Linked DNA regions of Homo sapiens: region 2 is linked to region 1. The links are contacts of gene promoters, found by promoter capture Hi-C in blood cells and fetal thymus (Javierre and others, 2016). All regions are on one chromosome and are shown on one strand. Each heading gives the region's core, a stretch centred on a gene start or on the middle of the fragment in contact. The rest is flanking DNA. Distances are from core to core; before and after follow the strand shown.

Evidence for each region. Contacts are between HindIII fragments. The CHiCAGO score rates a contact against its expected background, and 5 or more counts as called.
Region 2: a contact is called between a fragment that was not itself captured here and the fragment with the promoter of GREB1L in region 1, in 10 of 17 cell types (total CD8 T cells, activated CD4 T cells, naive CD8 T cells and 7 more). The highest score is 11.7, in total CD8 T cells.

The regions. Positions count from the first base shown.
Region 1 is chr18:21,239,027-21,246,965 of GRCh38, reverse strand. It overlaps GREB1L (GREB1 like retinoic acid receptor coactivator), which reads right to left and starts at 4,734. Exons shown (of 33, transcript NM_001142966.3): 1 at 4,573-4,734. It overlaps GREB1L-DT (GREB1L divergent transcript), which reads left to right and starts at 4,238. Exons shown (of 3, transcript NR_183513.1): 1 at 4,238-4,356; 2 at 5,631-5,689; 3 at 5,959-6,291. The HindIII fragment of the contact is 7,916 bases long and covers 1,716-7,939 here.
Region 2 is chr18:20,930,889-20,938,827 of GRCh38, reverse strand. No RefSeq gene overlaps it. Among named protein-coding and RNA genes, the nearest start is that of ROCK1, 180 kb to the left of the region's middle. RefSeq lists enhancers at 2,679-3,286, 3,287-3,892, 3,893-4,500, 4,501-5,106, 5,107-5,714 and 8 more. The HindIII fragment of the contact is 5,772 bases long and covers 1,381-7,152 here.

The sequences.
Region 1 (7,939 bases), core at 3,485-5,984:
AACTCAAGTCAGTGGGCATAACTTCATTATCCATTTGTAGCCAAAAGATAACATGATTGGAGATCATAAATTTTCTCTCTGATTTTTCCTCAAGTTTTGAGAAGCATTCCTAGTAAAATTCCAGCAAACTGTGATCACAATACTAACCACAAATCAGCTCTTCAAGGAAGATTGCATTTTCACTTAAATATCGTTTATATCTTAGTTAACAGCTACTTTTCTAAGAGTTAAATAATAATAATAGCTAATAAATATTACCATAGACTGAAAATACAAGAAAACTACAATTAGTTTGAAAAAAGTCTATTGGAAAATTTGGTTCACTATTCATTAGTGGTGTAACTGACCACCCCTATATGTCTAGCTTATGGTACAGCTCAAAATGACTGAGGTAATGAAATTTCCATCACTCAGTTTGGAAAACTATAGCAATATGGCGGAAAAAACTATCCCTCACTTTGTATAAGACTAAAGAAATGCAAAGCAAAAGAAAGGTATAAAATGTTACACTGATTAAATTAGTAACAATAATATGTTTTAAGATAACATAAGCACACACATAGATTGTTAATGACAGTATAAATTTATATAGTCCTTTTAGAAAGTAATGTGGAAATTACTGTAAATCTAGAAATTTCCTAATAAAAATAAGAGCTAACATTTATGTGTTTCATGTGTTATTGCTTTTTATCTTAACTTTAAAGAACTATTAATATAACCCATTTTACATCTTAGTAAGCTAAAGTTCTGAGAAAATAAATTACTTGTCCAATATTGCCAATGAGTACTAGAGCTAGGTTTAAACCCACAACCTCTAATTTTAGAACCCACCCATTTACAACTACATTATACTATCCCTCAAGAAAAAAAAGATCCTAAGGAAGTTAAGGGAAAAAGAAGAAAAGAAAAGAAATAAAGTTACATGTATAAGAATAGGCATTATAGGCCAGGCATGGTGGCTCACGCCTGTAATCCCAGCACTTTGGGAGGCTGAGGCGGGCAGATCACGAGGTCGAGATCGATGAGATCGAGACCATCCTGCAACACAGTGAAACCCCATCTCTACTAAAAATACAAAAAATTAGCCAGGCGTGGTGGCAGGCGCCTGTAGTCACAGCTGCTAGGGAGGCTGAGGCAGGAGAATGGCGTGAACCCGGAAGGCGGAGCTTGCAGTGAGTGGAGATCGCACCACTGCACTCCAGCCTGGGTGGCAAAGCAAGACTTCGTCTCAAACAAAACAAAACAAAACAAAACAAAACAAAACAAAAAAAGAATAGGCATTACATTTTTTATGCTGCAAAATCAAAAACAGGAAGGCTTAAGTTAATAATGAACATCCATTGCATAAACTTTTATAAAATTATTGTAAATAATGGGAAGTAAGCTATAGAAAAAATGTTTATAAAAAACAGGGTGAAAATTATCTGCAATATAAAACATTTGTAAAAATATTCATTCATATGGCAAGATTGGGAAGGGAGCTGGAAAAAATAAAAACCATTACCATTTTGAAGAATTTCACTACTGGTATTGAATTTTCTTTTGTTTCTGTCAGCTTCATTAATCAATCAATATTACTCTAAGTACCCTTACAAATATATTCTTCTAGTTCTTATTCTTAGGATCCCAAACAATTCCTACAGCGAATTTATAATTTATATTAGACTTATTCAAAATAATTACATATGTTTCATCAGCGGTGCTTTTAGAAAGCTTTAGCTTTCAGTATGAGATCTCTATCTTAACATCAACACTTTTTGCAATCATCGCTTACAGTGTACCTTTGAAATCCCTTAATTTAGACCATACGCAGTCACTAAAATCAGCTAATTTTTACTTTCACAACCTTACAATCACTCCTTAACTCCTGTCCCCATCATTAGCCCAAAGGCTGCAGGTACTTTACAAATTAGAAGTTTCCTAATAAGAACATACTCCCTAGGTGAATATTTATCAAGTAACTAAAATATCTTAGCTATAAGGGATGTTCATAATCTAAACACTTCAGAGAAGTATAAATTAAATTATGTCAAGTCTCTTTCAAGTAGGTAAAGTTAATTTCCACTTTACCAAAAAGAAGAGTTTGGTAAGAGTAATTTTCCTAAAAATGACACTGTGGGCTGCGAGGAGAATTCACTCTCCTTAGCCACACAAGGTGACATGAGAGGCCCTCAGCCCGGTGTTTGGCCTCTATCAGCAACATAAACACACATTCTGTGGGTAAGGAGAGTAGCTGTTCTCCAATGACATCAAACTCGTAAGAGCAGGGATATAGTTTAAACATCTCTAACCTCCTCTTCATGAATCCACCATTCAGGAATGTTTTTTGTCGCCCCACTGTCTAACATCCACAGTCCAATGGTTATCTTTAGCCAGTTTTAGGACAACTATTTTAATCGTAGAACTCTGGAGTTCGAAGGACCCTTAAAAATCACATAGTTCAATTCCTTTATCTAACTGAGTGGGAAACAAAGTTTTCCAAAAAAAAGTTACGTCGTGTGGCGGGTTTGTGGCAAATCCAGGCCTAGAATTAAGAGATGCAACCAAACATCTGAAACTCGGCCTTCGTATTTATCCTTTACCACTAACATCTTTATATTATGTCATGTCAATGGGAGTATACACACGCCCTTTCAGTGTTTTCAGATACACACTGCGGTAGACAAAGTAAACTACTACAGTTCTCATTCTCTACTTCATAAAGAATTCCAAAATGGAGGAAAAATTCAATAAAGATTGCAAAAACCAGTGTAGGGAAACTGGTGTGTGTGCAGGAGGAGATATTAGTTTAATAGTTTTGCTTTCCACTGCATACTGTTCTAAGATTTTTAGCCCTCTAACTGATCTTCAAGGTAATAATTGTCCACATTTGGCTAAATAATCTCATGTCATCATGAGTGGGTATCAAGTTAATGGTCATCACCACGAATATATAGTTCAGTCTTATATTCAATCCCTTTCATCATCTATAATGTAATTCCATTTTAATAGACTTACGGAAAGATATACAAAAAATATACAACAGTGGCTGCCTCTGAGAAGGATGAAGGCTTGTATGGAGGAGAGGAAAGAGGGCTTAATTTACACTGTATACTCTTCACTGTTGTTTGAAATGTTTACCCTACTTATATATTCATTCATTAAACATTTTCCTCTTGAAATACATACCTATATGCATGTAACTGTATTACTAAATATTTCAACAATTTAATTTTTTCTCTTTTAAATAATTTTTCAGTATCATTCACAAAACCTCCTAGAAAATTTCAGCAAAGAGAAGAAACAACACAGTCACAACACTCAAAGCAGAGTTCCAGGATTTAAAGTCTAAGAACATATATAGATGAATGAGAGGTTTTATTAAGGGGGACTGAGTTCAAAAACCTTTTGTGGGAAAGCTCTTCCCTGTATTTAAACGGCTAGGTTTAAAAATGTGATTTAAGCAGGGATTCCCGCCTCGAGGCGGGGGGAGGCGGAAAAAAACACCTTACGGTGTGAAAAGCAGAAATTAAAATGTGGTTTCTATCCTCTCAGCCGGGGCCAGAGGAGTGGGTGGGGAGGATAAGGACCTTGGAACCGTCACGTTCACCGGAGAAAGGGGCAAGACTGAGGAGTTTCTCCAGGACCCGCAGCCTCGGTTAGAGGCAGCGGCAGTTCCGGGCAAACGAGTCGCGTTCGGGGACGTTCCTTGGACTCATGTAACTGAGAAACCCCACGCACTGAATCTCCACATGGAGTTTCCTCTTAATGGAGCTGGGAAGAGGGACGGCGGGAATGGATTTCCTTTAACGAGTCTCCCTCACCCTCCCCGGCCAGGGCGCACCTCACTCGCTGTCTGCTTGTGTCAGGGTCAGCTGTCAACACAACTCTTTGTGTCTCATTCGGAATAAGAGTGGTCCTCAGCCATGCACAGAAAAATGGACATGCTGGCCGGAAGACACGCGCGCCCGCTCGTGACGAAGTGACATTTGGTGTTGAGGAAAAAAACCCACAGACGCCGAGCGAGCGCCCAGCCACCTCTGGACGTTCTCAACTTTCCCAGGCTGAACTCCATCCATCCTCTCCCCGCCACCTCCGCGGCGCCCTACCTGTCGCCCGCCCGCCTGCCCGGCACCCCCTCACTGCCCCTGGGCTCGGGGAGACGAACCAGGTGCCCCCTCGCCGCCTCCGCCGGGGGACCCCGCGCTACTCGGCGCGCCGCAGCTCCCTCGTCCCACCCCCGGGCCGTCTCGCTCCCGCCACAAAGGCAGCGAGTAGAGCCCGGTGACAGGCCTTCGGCCTCTGGGCGCGGACAGCACGGCCGGGTCCCTTCGGTGGGCGACGCGAGGCGGCAGGGAAGGCAGGCACGGCTCCCAGGTTGGCACTGGCGCTCCCTCGCCACCCGCACGCGCTCCGCTCACACCCCCGCTGAGCTTCCCATCCCTCCGGAAAAGTCCGCTGCGGCGCTTCCCCGCGCGGCCAGGGCGTCCAGCCCGCCAAAGGGCAGCTCCTGCCGGTCACAGGCGAGCTCCCGCGCCCGGTTCGCGACCTCTCACCTCCTGCCCGCGCCCCGGAGTCCCCGCGGCCGCTCACCTGGCCCTAGCGGGGCGCGAGGGCAGAGGACCAGGGGGTGGCCCTCGGCTCGGCCGGGCTGGTCTCCCCACCCCCAGTGCCGTTCCCTGCGCCGCGCTGCGCTCCGCTGCTCCGGCCGCCCGACTCCGAGGTGCTAGCGCCGCCGGCGGCTGGCGTCTCTCTGGCAGGCGCGCGGTCCGCGCGCTCAGTTCCCCGGGGCGGAGCGAGGCGGCGGCCGCCGCAGCCGGAGGCGGATTCCTCAGGTGCTGCCCCTCCCGCCCGCCCTGGCCTCCGCAGCGGGGACCCCCGCGCCCCCTCCCCCCGCCCCGCCTCGCGCCTTCCCGCTGCCTCGGCGTCCGCGAGTGGCTTTTGGGGGTCCCTCGCCCTCTGTGAGGGTGGTGGGCGCGCATTTCTCCCCTACCCCCCTCCAACGACGCCCCCCGCCCAGCCTGTGGAGCCCTCGATGCGCGGTCCTCACGCCTCCATTCCCAAACCCCGCCGCACAGACGAACGCGCAGCCCCGCGGGGGTGTACAGGGGGTCGTGCGGGGGGGGGGTCTTCTGTGAGGGAGGGCTGCACCCCAGTGTGCTGACGCGCGAAGCCAGGAGGAAAAATTATTTCCCCTGGAGCCCGCGTTCATTCAGCCTGCTCTCGCCTCTGCGCAATTGCTTTCTCTGTTCACTGGACGGCGGCTGAAGAGCCCCAAGCGTGAACTCGGCCTGGGCAGTGGTGGCTCGGAAACCCTTGGCCTTTTGCATGAAGGGGGTAGGGTGGGGGCAGGGCGCGGACAAAACCAAACAAACCCGGGAGCTCCGGGCCCAAGCCGACTTTTGCACCTCCCGGAGGAGCACGCCCTCCGGCCCCGGGCCCCGGCTCGTCGGTAGCCTCCCGGGACCACGGGGACGGCTCCACCCCAGGGCAGCCGCGTCCAGCTGGCCCTGGGCCTTGACGGGTGCTGCGGGGAAAAGGTTCTTGAGAGATGCTGCGGCCCGGTAGAGAGATTTAGCTCCACTTTTCACAGCTGGAGGCTTTTGTTATTAGAGATGCGGCTCCATTTTTAAAACTAATTGTTGCCACAGATAGGCGACTACATCTCTGGAAGCAGCAGCTCCATGCTGGATGTGGTGGAAGAATCGAGGTAAGGAAAGGCTGATGTATTTTGAGTGCCTTTAGTGCAGTACAGCCCGGGGGAGCTCCCCGTGTGCGTGGGAGTGGGGAGGCAGCCGCGGCGCCCAGGCCCGGGTGGGTTGGAATCATTGTCAAGTGATAGGTACCATTTAAAGACATTGTCAATTAAACTAGTTCTCATACGATGTCCCAGTACTTTTGTTTGCTTGTCTTGCATTTTTCTTTTTTGCCATATCCGAAATACATTTTTTTCTTTCCTGTCACTTTTGATCCATGCAGAGGGAATGGACTGGAAGTTTGGAATCACCGGAAAATAACAAGGCATAGCTAAGCTGTGACTAGCAAGATAAACGATTTGTTCGAGGTTTGATTGTCCTTTCCCTCCTCCACTCGGAAGACATAGTTGTCTTTTTTTAAATCATGTTTTGTACCGAAATATTTTTATTTTATAATTGAATCCCTGTTGTTGGGCCTTTAAAAACCCATAGAAACATTGTTATGTGCCACGAAGGTGGGAAACACGGCTTTCTCAGTCATTGCTGTACTCCCACAATTCTGGGTCATGCACACAATACAGGTTTAGTAAATAAAATCCGTATGTTTTTGGCCCCACGCGGTGGCTCATGTCTGTAGTCCCAGCGCTTTTAGCCTGGGTGACAGAGACCCTGACTCAAGAGTGTGTGTGTGTGTGTGTGTGTGTGTGTGTGTGCGCGCGCGCGCGCGGGCGGGCTTTAAAATAACTACAACAGAAAGGTGCAGATGATTAGCAATAGCTAAAAGAATCCAAAGTCACTTAGTAAACTCATCATGAGAACTGGCCATACACGTGGAAAAGACAGTGCTGTAGAAACTGAAATTTTAAGTTCACCTGGTGAATATAAACTAAGCTCATAGAAGTTAAAGCAGGTGAGAATCTTTTGAAAAACTCAACCCATCACAAGGTCTGTAGAGTGTGTGGGGGTTGGGCAGAAGCAAAACACCTTCCAATTTAAAGATAAGGACACTGAACAAGGAGCCGCTTTAAAGTAAAACCACCAGTGCAGTTTTCTCTCTTAGTGCAAGGACCATTTGTTGAGTGCCAGGTACACTAGACCCTAGAAATGTGAAAGCAAATCTGGCAGTCACTCAAGGACCATAGTCTAATATTACAGGACTCTGGTATTCATTCTTCATCCATTCAACAGATATTGAGCACCTAATGTGAGTTAGACGGCACAATATATCAGTAGTAGTGGTGATTTGTCAGTAAACAAGGCAAGTCCCTAACAAGGGTAAAAGTGAGAGTAATCTATATATCCTGGTAGATTGAAAAGAGTTCAATGCCATCTTCATTAGATAACAAACTCCCAGCCGGGTACAGTGTCTCACGCCTGTAATCCCAGCCCTTTGGAGGCCAAGGCAGGTGGAACACTTGAGGTCAGGAGTTCGAGACCAGCCTGACCAACATGGTGAAACCCCATCTCTACTAAAAATGCAAAATTAGCTAGGTGTTGGTGGCACACACCTGTATTCTCAGCTACTTGGGAGGCTGAGGCAGGAGAATCGCTTGAATCCTGGAGGCGGAGGTTGGAGTGAGCCAAATTGCGCCATTGCACCCCCAGCCTGGGCAACAAGAACAAAATTCCGACTCAAAAAAAAAAAAAAAGATTTCACACTCCTGTGTCCTGAATTTGTGTTTCTGCCTTGTCTTCCCTTTGGGATTTCTATGTCCCTCAGCATGCCCAGTAGACCTCCATAATTATAAAAGATGATAGGGTTCAGAGTGAACATTCTGAAAAAAGGTCCCATAGTTTTGAATCCTGACTCCAGCCTGGTGACAGAGTGAGACTATGTCTCAAAAAGAAAAAAAAAAAAAGAAGATGCATTAGTGCCTGAAACACTTTTTTTTTTTTTTTTTTTTTTTTTTTTTTTTTTGAGACAGAGTTTTGCTCTTGTTGCCCAGGCTGGAGTGTAGTGGCATGAACTCGGTTCACTGCAACCTCTGCCTCCCAGGTTCAAGCGATTCTCCTGCCTCAGCCTCCTGAGTAGCTGGGATTACAGGTGCCCGCCACCACGCCTGGCTAATTTTTTGTATTTTTAGTAGAGACGGGGTTTCGCCATGTTGGCAGGCTGGTTTCAAACTCCTGACCTCTGGTGATCTGCTCGCCTCAGCCTCCCAAAGTGCTGGGATTACAGGTATGAGCCACCATGCCCAGCCCGGAACACTATTAAATGTTGACTGTGATCATTGCCTGTGCATCCCTCCACTCTCTCCCATAAC
Region 2 (7,939 bases), core at 3,017-5,516, 310 kb after region 1:
CAGTTTTGAAACACTCTTTTTGTAGAATCTGCAAGTGGATATTTGGATAGATTTTAGGATTTCGTTGGAAACGGGAGTATCTTCGTATATAATCTCGACAGAAGCATTCTCAGAAACTGCTTTGTGATGTCTGCCTTCAAGTCACAGAATTGAACATTCTCTTTCATAGAGCAGGTTTGAAACACTCTTTTTGTAGTATCTGGAAGTGGACGTTTGAAGCACTTTGAGGCCCATGGTGAAAAAGGAAATATCTTCCCATAAAAACTAGACAGAAGCATTCTCAGAAACTTCTTTGTGATGTTTGTACTCAACTAACAGAATTGAACCTTTCTTTTGACAGAGCAGTTTTGAAACACTCTTTTTGCGGAATCTGCAAGTGGATATTTGGATAGCTTAGAGGATTTCGTTGGAAACGGGAATATATACATATAAAATCTAGACAGAAGCATTCTCAGAAACTTCTTTGTGATCTTTTCATTCAACTCGTAGAGTTGAACATTCCCTTTCATAGAGCCGGTTTGAAACACTCTTCTTGTACTACCGGGAAGTGGACATTTGGAGCGCTCTGATGCCTATGCTGAAAAAGGAAATATCTTCCTATAAAAACTACACAGAAGGATTCTCAGAAACATGTTTGTGATGTGTGTACTCAGCTAACAGAGTGGAACCTTTCTTTTTACAGAGCAGCTTTGATACACTATTTTTGTAGAATCTGCAAGTTGATATTTGGATATTCCCGTTTCCAATGAAATCCTTAAAGCTATCCCAATATCCACCTGCAGATTCTACAAAAAGAGTGTTTCAAAACTGCTCTGTAAAAAGAATTGTTCAACTCTGTTAGTTGAGGACATACATCACAAACAAGTTTCTGAGAATGCTTCTGTCTACTTTTTATGGGAAGATATTTCCTTTTTCACTGTAGGCGTCAAAGCGCTCAAAATGTCCACATCCAGATACTACAAAAAGAGTGTTTCAAACCGGCTAGATGAAAGGGAATGTTCAACTCTGTGACTTGAATGCAGACATCAAAAAGCAGTTTCTGAGAATGCTTCTGTCTAGATTTTATATGAAGATATTCCCGTTTCCAACGAAATCTTCGAAGTTATCCAAATATCCACTTGCAAATTCTACAAAAAGAGTGTTTCCAAACTGCTGTATCAAAAGAAAGGTACAGCTCTGTTAGTTGAGGACACACATCACAAATAAGTTTCTGAGAATGCTTCTGTCTACTTTTTATGGAAAGATATTTCCTTTTTCAACATAGGCCAGAAAGCGCTCAAAATGTCCACTTCCAGATACTACAGAAAGAGTGTTTCAAACCTGCTTTATGAAAGGGAATGTTCAAACCTGTGACTTAAAAGCAAACATCACAAAGAAGCTTCTGAGAATGTTGCTGTCTACTTTTTATATATAATCCCGTTTCCAACGAAATCCTCAAAGCCATCCAAATATCCACTTGCAGATTCCACAAAAAGAGCGTTTCAAAACTGATCTATAAATAGAAAGGTTCAACTCTGTTAGTTGAGTACATATATCCCAAAGAAGTTTCTTAGAATGCTTCTGTCTAGTTTTTATGGGAAGACATTTCCTTTTTCACCAAAGGCGTCAAAGCGCTCCAAATGTCCACTTCCAGATACTACAAAAAGAGTGTTTCAAACCTGCTCTAAGAAAGGGAACGTTCAACTCTGAGACTTGAATGCAGATATCACAAAGTCGTTTCCGAGAGTGCTTCTGTCTAGATTTTATATGAAGATATTCCTGTTTCCAACGATATCTTTAAAGCAATCAAAATATCAAATTGCAGATTCTACAAAAATAGTGTATCAAAGCTGCTCTGTAAAAAGAAAGGTTCCACTCTCTTAGCTGAGTACATACATCACAAACATGTTTCTGAGAATCCTTCTGTCTAGTTTTTATGGGAAGATATTTCCATTTTCACCATAGGCGTCAGAGCGCTCCAAATGTCCACTTCCCGATACTACAAGAAGAGTGTTTCAAACTGGCTCTATGAAAGGGAATGTTCAACTCTACGAGTTGAATGAAAAGATCACAAAGAAGTTTCTGAGAATGCTTCTGTCTAGATTTCATATGAATATATTCCCATTTCCCAGGAAATCCTCTAAGCTATCCAAATATCCACTTGCAGATCCTACAAAAAGAGTGTTTCAAAACTGCTCTGTCAAAAGAAAGGTTCAACTCTGTTAGTTGAGGACACACATCACAAAGAAGTTTCTGAGAATGCTTCTGTGTAGGTTTTACATGAAGATATTGCCATTTCCAACGAAATCCTTAAAGCCATTCAAATATGCACTTGCAGATTCTACAAAAAGAGTGTTTCAAAACGGCTCTGTAAAAAGAAAGGTTCAACTCTGTTAGTTGAGTACACAAATCACAAACAAGTTTCTGAGAATGCTTCTGTCTCGTTTTTATGGGAAGATATTTCCTTTTTCACCAAAATCATTAAAGGGCTCCAAAGGTCCACTTCCAGATACTACAAAAAGAGTGTTTCAAACCTGCTCCATGAAAGGGAATGTTCAACTCTGTGACTTGAATGCCGATATCACAAAGTAGTTTCTGAGAGTGCTTCTGTCTAGATTTTTTATGAAGATATTCCCGTTTCCAACGAAATCGTTAGAGCTATCCAAATATCCACTTGCAGATTCTACAAAAAGAGTGTTTCCAAACTGCTGTATCAAAAGACAGGATGTACTCCGTTGGTTGAGGACACACATCACAAAGAAGTTTCTGAGAATGCCTCTGTCTAGATTTTATATGAAGATATTCCCGTTTCCAATGAAATCCTTAAAGCTCTCCAAATATCCACTTGCAGATTCTCCAAAAAGAGTCTTTCAAAAGTGCTCTGTAAATAGAAAGTTTCAACTCTGTTAGTTGAGGACAAACATCACAATCCAGTTTGTGAGAATGCTTCTGTCTAGTTTTTATGGGAAGATATTTCCTTTTGCACCGTAAGCGTCAAAGCGCTCCAAGTGTCCACATCCAGATACTACGGAAAGAGGGTTTCAAACCTGCTCTATGAAAGGGAATGATCAACTCTGTGACGTGAATGCAGACATCATAAAGCAGTTTCTGAGAATGTTTCTGTCTAGGTTTTCTATGTTGATACTCCCGTTTCCAACGAAATAGTGAGAGCTATCCAACTATCCACTTACATATTCTACAAAAAGAGTGTTTCCAAACTGCTGTATCATAAGAAAGGATGAACTCTGTTAGTTGAGGACACACATCACAAAGAAATTTCTGAGAATGCTTCTGTCTAGTTTTTATGGGAAGATATTTCCGTTTTCAACATAGGCCTGAAATCGCTCGAAATGTCCATGTCCACATACTACAGAAATAGTGTTTCAAACCTGCTCTATGAAAGGGAATGATCAACTCTGTGACGTGAATGCAGACATCATAAAGCAGTTTCTGAGAATTTTTCTGTCTAGGTTTTCTATGTTGATACTCCCGTTTCCAATGAAATAATGAGAGCTATCCAACTATCCACTTACATATTCTACAAAAAGAGTGTTTCAAAACTGCTGTATCATAAGAAAGGATGAACTCTGTTAGTTGAGGACACACATCACAAAGAAATTTCTGAGAATGCTTCTGTCTAGTATTTATGGGAAGATATTTCCGTTTTCAACATAGGCCTGAAATCGCTCGAAATGTCCATGTCCAGATACTACAGAAATAGTGTTTCAAACCTGCTCTATGTAAGGGAATATTCAACTCTGTGACTTAAAAGCAAACATCACAAAGAAGGTTCTGAGAATGCTGCTGTCTACTTTTTATATGTAATCCCGTTTCCAAGGAAATCCTCAGAGCTATCCTAATATCCACTTGCAGATTCCACAACAAGAGCTTCTCAAAACTGACCTATAAATAGAAAGGTTCAACTCTGTTAGTTGAGTACATATATCCCAAAGAAGTTTCTTAGAATGCTTCTGTCTAGTTTTTATGGGAAAACATTTCCTTTTTCACCAAAGGCGTCAAAGCGCTAAAAATGTCCACTTCCAGATACTACAAAGTGTCTCAAACCTGCTCTAAGAAAGGGAATGTTCAACTCTGTGACTTGAGTGCAGATATCACAAAGCAGTTTCTGAGAGTGCCTCTGTCTAGATTTTATATGAAGGTATTCCCATTTCCTATGAAATCGTTAGAGCTATCCAAATATCCACTTGCATATTCTACAAAAGGAGTGTTTCGAAACTGCTGTATCAAAAGAAAGGTTGAACTCTGTTAGTTAAGGACACACATCACAAAGAAGTTTCTGAGAATGCTTCTGTGTAGATTTTACATGAATATAGTCCCGTTTCCAAGGAAATCCTTAAAGCCATCCAATTATCCACTTGCAGATTTTACAAAAAGAGTGTTTCAAAACTGCTGTGTAAAAAGAAACGTTCAACTCTGTCAGTTGAGTACACACATCACAAACAAGTTTCTGAGAATGCTTCTGTCTAGTTTTTATGGGAAGATATTTCCTTTTTCTCCAAAGTCGGCAAAGCGCTCCAAAGATCCATTTCCAGATACAACAAAAAGAGTGTTTCAAACCAGCTCTATGAAAGGGAATGTTCAACTCTGTGACTTGAATGCAGATATCACAAAGTACCTCCTGAGAGTGCTTCTGTCTAGATTTTATATGAAGATATTCCCGTTTCCAAGGAAATCGTCAGAGCTATCCAAATATCCACTTGCAGATTCTGCAAAAAGAGTGTTTCCAAACTGCTGTATCCAAAGACAGGTTGTACTCTGTTAGGTGGGGACACATATCACAAAGAAGTTTCTGAGAATGACTTTTCCGTTTCCAATGAAATCTACTTAAAGGTATCCAAATATCCGCTTGCAGATTCTACAAAAAGAGTCTTTCAAAACTGCCCTGTAAATAGAAAGGTTCAACTCTGTTAGTGGAGGACATACATCACAAAGCAGTTTGTGAGAAGGCTTCTGTCTAGTTTTTAAGGGAAGATATTTCCTATGTCACCGTACGCGTCAAAGCGCTCAAATGTCCACATCCAGATACTACAGAAACGGTGTTACAAACGTGCTCGATGAAAGAGAATGTTCAATTCTGTGACTTGAATGCAGACATCACAAAGCAGTTTCTGAGAGTGCCTCTGTCTAGATTGTATATGAAGATATTCCCGTTTCCAACGAAATCTTCAAAGTTATCGAAATATCCGCTTGCAGATACTACAAAAAGAGTGTTTCTAAACTGTTGTATCAAAAGAAACGTTCAACTCTGTTAGTTGAGGACACCCATCACAAATAAGTTTCTGAGAATGCTTCTGTCTACTTTTTATGGGAAGTTATTTCCTTTTTCAACATAGGCCTGACATCGCTCGAAATGTCCACTTAGAGATACTACAGAAAGAGTGTTTCAAAACTGCTCTATGGAAGGGAATGTTCAACTCTGTGACTTAAAAGCAAACATCACAAGGAGCTTCTGAGAATGCTGCTGTCTATATTTTATATGTAATCCCGATTCCAACGAAATCCTCAGAGCTATCCAAATATCCACTTGCAGATTCCACAAAAAGAGCATTTCAAACTGATCTATAAAGAGAAAGGTTCAACTCGGTTAGTTGAGTGCATATATCACAAAGAAGTTTCTTAGAATGCTTCTGTCTAGTTTTTATGGGAAGACATTTCCTTTTTCACCAAAGGCGTGAAAGCGCTCCAAATGTCCACTTCCAGATACTACAAAAAGTGTGTTTCAAACGTGCTCTAAGAAAGGGAATGTTCAACTCTGTGACCTGAATGCAGATATCACAAAGTAGCTCCTGAGAGTGCTTCTGTACAGATTTTATATGAAGACATTCCCGTTTCCAACGAAATCGTTAGAGCTATCCAAATATCCACTTGAAGATTCTACAAAAAGAGTGTTTCCAAACTGCTGTATCAAAAGAAAGGTTGAACTCTGTTAGTTGAGGACACACATCACAAAGAAGATTCTGAGAATGCTTCTGTGTAGATTTTACATGAATATAGTCCCGTTTCCAACGAAATCCTTAAAGTCATCCAATTATCCACTTGCAGATTCTACAAAAAGAGTGTTTCAAAACTGCTGTGTAAAAAGAAACGTTCAACTCTGTCAGATGAGTACACACAACACAAACAAGTTTCTGAGAATGCTTTGGTGTAGTTTTTATGGGGACATATTTCCTTTTTCACCAAAGTCGTCAAAGAGCTCCAAAGATCCACTTCCAGATACAAAAAAAGAGTGTTTCAAACCAGATCTACGAGAGGGAATGTTCAACTCTGTGACTTGAATGCAGATCTCACAAAATTAGTTTCTGAGAGTGCCTCTGCCTAGATTTTATATGAAGCTATTCCCGTTTTCAACAAAATCGTTAGAGCTATCGAAATATCCACTTCCAGATTCTACAAAAAGAGTGTTTCCAAACTGATGTATCAAAAGACAGGTTGTACTCTGTTAGTTGAGGACGCACATCACGAAGAAGTTTCTGAGAATGCCTCTGTCTAGATTTTACCTGAAGATATTCCGGTTTCCAATGAAATCCTTAAAGATCTCCAGATATCCACTTGCAGATTCTCCAAAAAGAGTCTTTGAAAACTGCTCTGTAAATAGAAAGGTTTAACTCTGTTAGCTGAGGACATACATCACACACCAGTTTGTGAGAATGCTTCTGTCTAGTTTTCATGGGAAGTTATTTCCTTTTCACCGTAAGCGTCAAAGCGCTCCAAGTGTCCACATCCAGATACTTCGGAAAGAGTGTTTCAAACCTGCTCTATGAAAGGGAATGTTCAAATCTGTGACGTGAATGCAGACATTACAAAGGAGTTTCTGAGAATGTTTCCGTCTAGGTTTTATATGAAGATACTCCCGTTTCCAAAGAAATCCACAAAGCTATCCAAATATCCAATTGCAGATTCTACAAAAAGCGTGTTTCCAAGCTGCTCTGTCAAACGAAATGTTCTATTCTGTGAGTTGAGGACACGCATCACAAACAAGTTTCTGCAAATGCTTGTGTCTGGTTTTTATGGGAAGATATTTCCTTGTTCACCATAGGCCTGAAAACACTCGAAATGTCCACTTCCAGATACTACAGAAAGAGTGTCTGAAACCTGCTCTACGAAAGGGAATGTTCAACTCTGTGACTTAAAAGCAAGCATCACAAAGAAGCTTCTGAGTATGCTACTGTCTAGTTTTTATGGGAAGATATTTCGTTTTTCAACATAGGCCTGAAATCGCTCGAAATGTCCACTTCCAGATACTATAGAAAGAGTGTTTCTAAACTGCTCTATGGAAGGGAATGTTCAACTCTGTGACTTAAAAGCAAACATCACAAAGAAGTTTCTGAGAATGCTGCTGTCTACATTTTGTTTGTAATCCCGTTTCCAACGAAATCCTGAAAGCTATCCAAATATCCACTTGCAGATTCCACAAAAAGAGCATTAAAAAGCTGATCTATAAAGAGCAAGGTTCAACTCGGTTAGTTGAGTACATATATCACAAAGATGTTTCTTAGAATGCTTCTTTCTAGTTTTTATGTGAAGACATTTCCTTTATCACCAAAGGCGTCAAAGCGCTCCAAATGTCCACTTCCAGATCCTGCAAAAAGAGTGTTTCAAACCTGCTCTAAGAAAGGGAATGTTGAACTGTGTGACTTGAATGCAGATATCACAAAGCAGTTTCTGAGAGTGCCTCTGTCTAGATTTTATATGAAGGTATTCCCGTTTCCAAAGAAATCATTAGAGCTATGCAAATATCCACTGGCAGATTCTACAAAAAGAGTGTTTCCAAACTGCTGTATCAAAAGACAGGATGTACCGCCGTTAGTTGAGGACACACATCACAAAGAAGTTTCTGAGAATGCCTCTGTCTAGATTTTATATGAAGATATTCCCGTTTCCAATGAATTCCTTAAAGCTCTCCAAATATCCACTTGAAGATTCTCCAAAAACAGTCTTT